Regions from separate parts of the Homo sapiens genome. Here regions 1 and 2 are each linked to region 3. The links are contacts of gene promoters, found by promoter capture Hi-C in blood cells and fetal thymus (Javierre and others, 2016). All regions are on one chromosome and are shown on one strand. Each heading gives the region's core, a stretch centred on a gene start or on the middle of the fragment in contact. The rest is flanking DNA. Distances are from core to core; before and after follow the strand shown. Region 1 overlaps LOC105375730 (a long non-coding RNA gene). Region 2 holds the start of ENPP2 (ectonucleotide pyrophosphatase/phosphodiesterase 2). Region 3 holds the start of DSCC1 (DNA replication and sister chromatid cohesion 1).

Region 1 (3,238 bases), core at 1-2,500, 230 kb before region 3:
CACACCAAGACATTCATGAGGAACCCGCCCCCATGACCCAAACACCTCTCACCAGGCTCCCCTCCAACATTGGATGTCACATTTCAACATGACATTTGGAGGGGACAAAACATCCAAACCATATCACCTGCCCTGTTTTGTGGTGTTTCATCCCAGTCTCAAAATGGAAGACCAACCTGGCCGAGGTGAGGTACCACTAGGAGAGAGAAAATTAGAGGTGACTGAGGATAGTAGTAAGAAAGCGTGAAAGGTCTGGGGCTCAGTGCACCTCAAGTGCTCTCACTGGACTCGTCTCAACCCTTAGTTCATGACACACTACTATCATTGTTCCGTACATGTTCACTTTTTTCTTTTCTTTTTTTTTTTTTTTTTTGAGGGGGAGTCTCGCTCTGTCACCCAGGCTGGAGTGCAGTGGTGTGGTCTTGGCTCACTGCAACCTCCTCGTCCGGGGTTCAAGTGATTCTCCCACCTTCTTCAGAGTAGCTGCGATTACAGGTGTGTGTCACAACACCTGGCTAATTTTGTATTTTTAGTAGAGATGGGGTTTCACCATGTAGGCCAGGTTGGTCTCGAACTCCTGACCTAAAGTGATCCACCTGCCTCAGCCTCCCAAAATGTTGGGATTACAGGTGTGAGCCACCACGCCCGGCCTCACTTTTTCTTACTATGATGTAATATGATAAAATGATACCTGTGAACTTATCACCAAGCTGAGAACTAGAATACTGATAATAAATTACAAATATATATCTACACTCATGGATATGTACATAAATATACATACACATATACATAAGTAGATACATATACATGCTGTATTTTTAGTTTTAGTTATTTTGAACTCATTTTTTAATTCAATATTGAAGGATTTATTCCTATCAATACATGTAGTTATAATTGATTTTCAATGATACATAGCATTATTTGTGGGACTGAATTGCATCTATGTTCTCATTATCTAAGCAATGGGTTTCAGATTGTTGTCCTTTTTTTTTCTTGTGAATAGTGATGCCAGTACAGGAATGGGAATGCTGGTTCATAGGGGTTAGGAATATTCAACCTCATGAGATACTGCCAAACTCCTTTCCAGTGTGATTGTGCCAATTTATTCTTCCTCCAGCAATTTATAAGAGATGTAAGAGATTTTGATGATAACATCTTTCTAAAGGTCGGTTTTGTCGGGCTTCTTAATAATTGCCAATTATAATGAAATAAATATGAAATGAAATTAAATAAATGTATCTCGGTCTCACAGTGGAATGCTACATATTATTAAAAATCAATTATATATGTAATCAAATATATATACATACATAATGAATAGGTGTAAAATGATGTATCATTAAGACATAGTAAAATGGCCTTATTTGGCCCAGCAGAGATAGAACTCTTTGACTTGGAATGAATGGACAAGGAAATAAATTTCTTTGTGATAACAGCAATAGTAGCTAACAGTTAGTTACTGGCTGCCTGATACAGCCAGGTATTCTAATTTTATATATAAGGTTAAAGTAAATATGTGAGAAATATTTTTATTAGATTCATTTTACTAAAAAAAAAAACTGGGGTTCAGAAAGGTTAAGTTGCTTGAGCAAAACCTTAATTTAAAGCTACTTCATGTTAGGAATTAGGATTCAAAACTCAGTCAGTCTAGCTCTACATGCACAATGACAAGAGCAAGTATGACAGTTTGAATCATGTAAAGGTTTCTTAGGGGCAACGCATCTATAAATTTCTGCCAGCCCTGTAGGATTTCACTAGCAAAAGAGAGAGTAGAGGAAAGAAACAAGTTATACCACTAGGTCAGAAAAATAATTTTTAAAAAGAATGTTTTTATGTTTATGTTTTCTTTAACTTCTGTTATCTTCAGTTTTAGGACAGTCTTTCAAAAATGTCAGCCTCTCAATCCCTCAATTTTGGCCAGTGAATTCTGAGTGGAAGTAAACATGTGTTATTTCTGAGTCAGGACAGTGTGAGAGACCAGATAGGTCAAGACCAACGTGATGATGGGAATGTTCCATAATCCACACTACAAAATATAGTAGCCAGTAGCCACAAGTGGAAAAAATTATCAGGCACTTGAAATGCAGCTTGTGCAAAGAAGGGACTGAAATTTCCATTTTCTTTGATTTTAATTACTTTTGAATCAAATCTAAGTAACTGCAGGTGGCTACAAGCTGTGTAAAGCACAGTCCAGTTTCTAGGGTTTTCTTTTTGTTGCGATGACCAGTGTTGCTCCATCTAGCGGTTGGTCCATCAGCCTGAGAAGGGGCGACTCAGAACAGCGCTTCCCAGCTGATGGTTGATTTGAATGTGTGTTAAAAAGAAATAAACTTCTGATGTTTTAAGCCACTGAGATTATTTTCCTGCAGTAAAACAACCTATCCTACGAGAGACAGGGGTAACTAGATAAGAGCTTTAATGGAAGGGTTGGAATTGAGTTTCCATTGCCCACTGTGGCGCAGGCATGGGTGGCCATGTGTTCCACGCACAGACACGGCCCTTCTAATGGCACCCTCCTGACACCTGCACTGTGGCCTCTCCAGGCCGGGGCACTACCCTAAAGAGTGAGAATAAAGCACGTAGTGTTGGGTATCACATAACCTAATTTGAATTTCTGCGCCACCACTTAATAACTGTGTAAGCTTGGGAGAATTACAAAAGCCTTTGAGCACTAGTTTCAGGGTCTCTTAAATAGCCGTAATGGTAGTCCTTAATTTACAGGATTGTTAGGAAGACTAGTTAAGAGAATGTTTATAAATTGGATGACACATAGTAACTGTTCATAGAAAGATCAGCTACCTCTTCTTATTCTTACATTGTTATTCTCATTATGTTCACGGAAGTGCAGAAGTGCAGAAGCACACACACAATGGGGAGTCTGCACACACATGTCTTCAATCTCAAATTCTGACACTCATGAGCTGTCTGACCCTAAACTATCTAGTTTCTCTCAGATTACTCATTTCCAAAATGGATAATAAAATACTAAAGTGAAGGCCGGGCACGGTGGGTCACGCCTGTAATCCCAGCACTTTGGGAGGCCAAGGCGGGCGGATCGCCTGAGCTCAGGAGTTTGAGATCACCCTAGGGAACATGGTGAAACCCGGTCTCTGCTAAAATACAAAAACTTAGCCGGGTGTAGTGGCATGCACCTGTAGTCCCAGCTACTCAGGAGGCTGAGGCACGAGAATCTCTTAAGCCCGGGAGGCAGAAGTTGCAGTGAGCCAAGATCGTA
Region 2 (3,084 bases), core at 260-2,759, 220 kb after region 3:
GTTCAGTATGGCATACAGACAAAAGCAAGAGGCTTACATATAAAAATGTATAAGCCTGTCCTCTTTGCAACAGTGCAAAACTAAAAGGATTTTAGAAAGGCAATTAACAGTTTGGCAGTATGTGTATTTTCTTTTTTTCAATTAGATATTACTAGATTCTAAGAATCTGTAATGAAACCCAGGCCTACTGTACAACCCCCTATAAACAAGTTTTTGCTTTTGTGCTATCATGTTTTATTTGAGCAGAGCCACTACTCTGTTACTAATTTGTTGCATGGTAAGTCTCGTATTTGTTTACGCACGAACACATGTGCTGCGGAAGAAAAGATGGTCACTGGACCTGCTGAGGAAGAGGCCAAAAACAAATCTTTTTCCCTCATTTGAATCCTGAAGGCATGTAATATTTAAACAACTTTCAGATTTAGAGCCCTTGATTTTTTCTTTTGAAAGTGTGCTGGTTGCCAAATTGCTTAGTAAAGAAACTTTAGTACCCACAATAGCCTCAAAGGACACAGTATTTGGTGGCTACATTTAACCAAGAAATAACTAGGGAAACAATTCTTGACATTTCAATTCTTGCTGCCATTGAGATTTCCTTCCTAAATTCAATTGCTAATAAAGCTTCCCATGCCATCCCCTTCCCCCACCCATCTGCCTCTCAAAAACCGCCCCCTCCTCCGCCCCGCCCGAAACAAGCTGACAGTCTTTACGGGAAGAAGAGGCAGAGACTGAAGTTATTTTGTCCGTCCTCCCAGGGCAGAAGGACTTTATGCTGCGTGGCTGGCATTTCCAGTATTTTGATAAAAGTTACTTCTCTAAACTTGAACCACAGCATGGGGAAAATAATGTTATCTTTTATGTTAGTTACAATTTTGCGAAATTTCATCATGAGAAACTTTCAAGGAGGCAGAAGTAGCTGAGAATGTGATACTAGGGACAGGGTCGCTCAAACTGCCAGCAAAATAAATAGATGGGAAAGACAGGAACGTTATTAGGTTTATAAATGATAAAACTTTCCTTGCTTAAAAAAATAAAGTGGTGAGGTTGACGCCATTGAATGACTGCATTGTAAACCTTAAAAGCTTAAAGCTGGTGGAAAGCCCTTGCACAGCCCTGTTTTCATTTTTATCGGATGAAATGCATTTGGTTTCTTTTTGACAAACCATGTTTTTGTGAGGAAAGGAAAATGAACATGCACTGTTATGGGCCACGGCAATGTAACAAACCCTCCTGTTGCCAGAGGATACCACATGAAAGTGTCTGTGGGTTAGGGGAGGGACCTGTAAGGGGGCGGGGATAAGGGGGATGATAGCTTAAGCCTCTTAGGCTCAGAGCTGCGATTTGTGAACACCCTGTGATGTAATCAAGCTCTGGACAAATCAGAGGAGTCTGTCAACCTCCCAGGTGGGATTGCTTATAGTTAATAGACTAAACCCAGAGCCTCAAAGCAGTGCACTCCGTGAAGGCAAAGAGAACACGCTGCAAAAGGCTTTCCAAGAATCCTCGACATGGCAAGGAGGAGCTCGTTCCAGTCGTGTCAGGTGGGAGAACGGAGGAATGACGGGGGACATGCTTGATCTTCAGAATCAGTGACTGATTGGCATTTTCCTTTTTGTTGTGCAAATTAAGATAGCACCTTATTATGCATTTTGGAAGTGGTAGGATTGGGTGTTGATATTGAAGCCATTTGAATCACCTTTGTGTAATTTGATTTAGTCTTCTCCAGCTGTATTTGACAACTTGGTCTCTTTATTCTCTTAGATAATATCCCTGTTCACTTTTGCCGTTGGAGTCAATATCTGCTTAGGATTCACTGCACATCGAATTAAGAGAGCAGAAGGATGGGAGGAAGGTCCTCCTACAGGTAAGTGTCAAAACTATTTGCATTTTCAATTTTTTAAAAATATTACATACGGGGTAATCAATGTAAGCTTATTAAAATATTTATTTTTAATACAATCTTGCAGTATAACTAAGTTAGTCCTAAATTTCTCTGGGTAAAACCACCTATGTGTATAATTCAGGTGGGAGAGTGTGGTTTTCATTAGAGAACATTTATGATTGTTTCATAACTGGCTATTTCCATTTTTGTACTCAAATTTGTAAATGTTAGGATACAATTAAAACTCTTGTTCACAGACAAGGCTAAAGTAGAAGTGGTGAGAACAGGTGTTGGTTTAATATTGGAGCTACCCAAATCTGATTTGCTGTCACATGATATAGGATGTAGTATTTGCCACTAGAAAGTTCTGATGTAGGAAAAAGGAATGGAAGTAAAAAAGGCAGTGAGCTATCTTTATGAAACTTCAGAAATTTAGGACTTTAAGATTTACTTAAAATTGGAAAAACATAAAAGAGAGGAGGTGTTTAAAGAGTTTTCAGGATTGATTTGTCCTCATTGTGTGTCCTTATGGCAAAGGAAAGGTAAGTTTTAATAGTGTACCTTGACTTAAATAATAGAACCAAAGTGAAAGAGTTTCTTTTTACAATACACTACACCATAAGTAGTGTTCCCATACAGTGTTCTTATAAAGGAGCTCCTTGTGCAGACAGAGGGGGCTTAACTGACCAGGTCTTAAGCAATGAGTTGGTTAATTTCCTGGAAATTGGAGCTGCTGATGGTTTTAGAAATAAAAAATTACATTTTAAGTAATGGGCACTCTAGGGAACAATATTTTCTGGACTTTTCCTGACATTCCAGCATGTTTGTCTGTCTTCCTGTGAATTTTGTGTTTCTCTGTATGTCTTGATCTGATTGTTATGAAAGACCATCACTTGCCTCTGTTTAGCCAGCTTGAAATTTTATTATCAACCGGGTTAGGACACATACATTGATGGAATACTAAATCTTCCTTACATCAATTAAGTTACTTTTGAATCATGCCAGTAGGTTGAAAGAATAATATTAGAAGTGAATTAGTGAATTGAAGTGGGGTGTGGCGGGGTTAAGAGTGAGAAAATAGATCACAAAACTTGCAGCCCCAGGGAGCCAAATGGACAAAATGAGTCGTCTTCTGTTGGGGAGGCAGAGGACAGTGGATCACTGAGCTAGAGAATGCTGTTTTTATTTGCAGCAAATGCTCT
Region 3 (2,860 bases), core at 99-2,598:
CGCAGCCATGCCTGTCTGATGTAAATGTCAGGGTTCTAGTTGACACTGCTTCTAGTTGTAGGGAATGTTTCCCATTTAATAGAGCAACTACAATGGTTGATTCCCTTCAATAATAACTTCTTATCAGGCAACCACTGTCACATTCAGGATTTCATTCCACCGAATTCCTATGCATTCAAATGTAAAAGAGGCTAGTGAAGAAGTAGGTCACATGAACCAATCTTTCCACCACCAACGAAAGCACTGCCCAGACTCCTGGGATGCCCTACTCTGGTATTTTCGTATCATTTTACCCAAGAATTGAAAAAAATGTCTGCTCAGATCCTTTGAATTCAACACCTTACCCACCACTTTCTTTCACTTCAAGCAAGGTCTGATTTGCACTAACTAGTAGGAGGTCACCATCTCTTAAGTGATTCCTCCCAGACTATTTTAGCTCTCAGGGACAGCCAGGGCCCTCAACGATTCCCTAAGCATCTCTGGGAAAGTTTACACATTACGCTGTTACAAGCAATTCATGTATGTGTGCATAGTGAAAACCTTTTCTCTTAAAACTCTTAATACTGAAGTTCCCCAAACCTTTGGAAAATGTACAAGTCACAGATGCTCCTGTGACTTGTTTTTCCCTTCGGGTGCGTCCTCAACCTTGCTTAAATAAACCTCTATTGAACGAGACCTGCATCAGTCACTTTTCGGTTAACACTAGGTATTCAACGAATAGACTAGTCCCGCCGTTGTCTCCAGATATGATGGTGCCCTGACCCAAAGAAGCGAGATACTCCTTCCCAGGGCCTCGCTCCCGAGCATGGGTTATTTGCACAAAACCCCGCAGGAAGCTTTTAGAGCCACAGTCGGCTAGGCTGGAGTCAGACTCTGTTACCTCCTGACTCTGCCATCACGAGCAAGGAGCCTGCTTCCTCATTGGCAAAAGGGAATGACCAAGGCACCACCTTACAGGGTTGTGGCAACGGGCTCATGGAATTATACATGCCAAGTGGTTATCACAGGGCCCGCCACTGGCGGAAGGTGAGACAATGTGGACGGCGAGGAAATGGGAGCATCGGCTGGAAACCAGGGACGGAGATCGGGGATGGGGGGCGGGCAAGGGGACAGCGGAAAGGGTGGGCGAGGGATCCGTGTCCCAACCCGCCGAGTCGCAGCTCTGCCCCTGCGAGCTTCCGCCGAGACCGCCCCCCGGGAAGCCGCGTTTCCTTCCTGCAGTCGCGGTCCGGCGTGGGGCACGGAGGGGCTCGCGCTCCCAGAAGCCGGCAGGCCTTCCCGCGGGCGGGCCCGCAGCGCGCTCCGCCCCGGAAACACGCCCATGGCCGCCTTGGCGCGCTTTCAAACGCTCAGGTTTCCTACCTTCCGGCTGCTTGGGAACTTCTTTCTTGCCCGCCAAGCCCGCAGCCACCCGGGCGCGGCGGGACTCCTAGACCCGGCGCTGCGATGAAGAGGACCCGCGACGAGGTGGATGCGACGCTGCAGATCGCCAAGCTGAATGCGGCCGAGCTGCTGCCGGCGGTGCACTGCCTGGGCTTCGGCCCTGGGGCCAGCGGCGCTGCAGCCGGCGACTTCTGCCTGCTGGAGCTGGAGCCCACGCTGTGCCAGCAGCTGGAGGATGGACACAGGTGAGCCCTGGTCACGCGGCGCCCCCAGCCTCTGGCCGGCCACGTTATTTTCTCAGCGGGGAAAGTCGGGATAAGAAAACAGGGCCAGAGAGATGCACTGACCTGGCCGGGGGCTCATAGCAAGCTGCCTGTTCCCGAGGAGTCCACGCCTCCGGTGGGCCGTCCAGTTAGCTGCACTGCGGTGATGAGTAGCACTGGTCCAGCTGACCTTGGAGGCATGTGTCAGCGGGAGCAAGTCAGGAAATACTAATACAACCTCCGTGAAGTTTTTGAAGAGTTACCGGTGATTACAGGGACTCTACAGGACACCTGTCACTCTACCTTAAAATACAGTGGTGATACCCAATGTTTATAGAACTCTTGCCTTCCACTTATATTTATTTTACTCAGATGATAGATAGGAAGTGCTGGGAATCAGCTTACAGACTTGGTAATTGGGTGAGACCCCTACCCACCCCGAAGCAAACTTGCTTAGTAGGGATCTGAAGCTGTTTCTAATTCCAGGTCAGATACAAACTTGCTGCAAGATCATTGATTAGAAGTCGAAGTTGAGGTAGTTTTTTAAAGGCAGTCTTGAGAAGTCTAGAGAATCGTTATATCCCTCCACCCTGTGCAGCCCCAGCTCCTGCAAAATAGGGAGCTCCAGCTTGATTCTCTTTTGCACAATTGGTCCTCCGACACCTATATTTTATTAGGCTATTTTTTCTCTTTTTTCTTAATGGAATCCTTTAGGCTGTCTTTCAGTTTTCGTACTTTGCCCACCAAAGAGTGTTAGAGTAAACTGGCCATTCTTCAGATACCTGCTATATACCTCAAAGTACCTTTAAGGGAACTGAAAGAACTTCACTAGTCTGTTTCCATCCCGGTTCAGTTGGTGGAGAGTTGAGAAAGGAACTCAGGTGTGAGGACTTTCTCTCGGTCCAGTTCTAGTTAATCTAGCTGGCAAAAACAAAACAAAACAAAAACAAAAAAATAAAAACAGGCCCTGGAAACGTGTGTTTTTAATTTTGGGGTGTAGGGAGTGATGGTATAAACAAAATATTTCAAAGTGGGGGTAGTGCAGTTAGAGAAATAAATGTTAAAGACTAGGTACTTGGGCCTATTAAGCATTATTAGCATTAGGAATCTAAAAAACCTTTTATTCTTTTTACTTAAATGAAGACTTAGTCAAAAATAAATACACAGTCTGCTATTTCAGGTTTCTTATTATTTATTCAAAAGAAACGAGTTGT

What was found. The method cuts DNA at HindIII sites, captures the fragments that hold promoters and counts their contacts. A CHiCAGO score of 5 or more calls a contact.
Region 1: a contact is called between a fragment that was not itself captured here and the fragment with the promoter of DSCC1 in region 3, in 14 of 17 cell types (monocytes, fetal thymus, activated CD4 T cells and 11 more). The highest score is 15.0, in monocytes.
Region 2: a contact is called between a fragment that was not itself captured here and the fragment with the promoter of DSCC1 in region 3, in 1 of 17 cell types (fetal thymus). The highest score is 6.9, in fetal thymus.

The regions. Positions count from the first base shown.
Region 1 is chr8:120,088,457-120,091,694 of GRCh38, reverse strand. The region is part of intron 1 of LOC105375730 (a long non-coding RNA gene); the gene reads right to left. Among named protein-coding and RNA genes, the nearest start is that of COL14A1, 35 kb to the left of the region's middle. The HindIII fragment of the contact is 2,795 bases long and covers 1-2,647 here.
Region 2 is chr8:119,637,205-119,640,288 of GRCh38, reverse strand. ENPP2 (ectonucleotide pyrophosphatase/phosphodiesterase 2) reads left to right here and starts at 1,450. Exons shown (of 25, transcript NM_001040092.3): 1 at 1,450-1,541; 2 at 1,762-1,864. The coding sequence starts at 1,509. RefSeq lists a silencer at 1,235-1,334. The HindIII fragment of the contact is 849 bases long and covers 1,085-1,933 here.
Region 3 is chr8:119,854,382-119,857,241 of GRCh38, reverse strand. It overlaps DSCC1 (DNA replication and sister chromatid cohesion 1), which reads left to right and starts at 1,348. Exons shown (of 9, transcript NM_024094.3): 1 at 1,348-1,628. The coding sequence starts at 1,447. It overlaps LOC105375728 (a long non-coding RNA gene), which reads right to left. Exons shown (of 4, transcript XR_928590.3): 2 at 2,440-2,567; 3 at 1,363-1,836. RefSeq lists a silencer at 1,197-1,256 and an enhancer at 1,367-1,676. The HindIII fragment of the contact is 2,867 bases long and covers 839-2,860 here.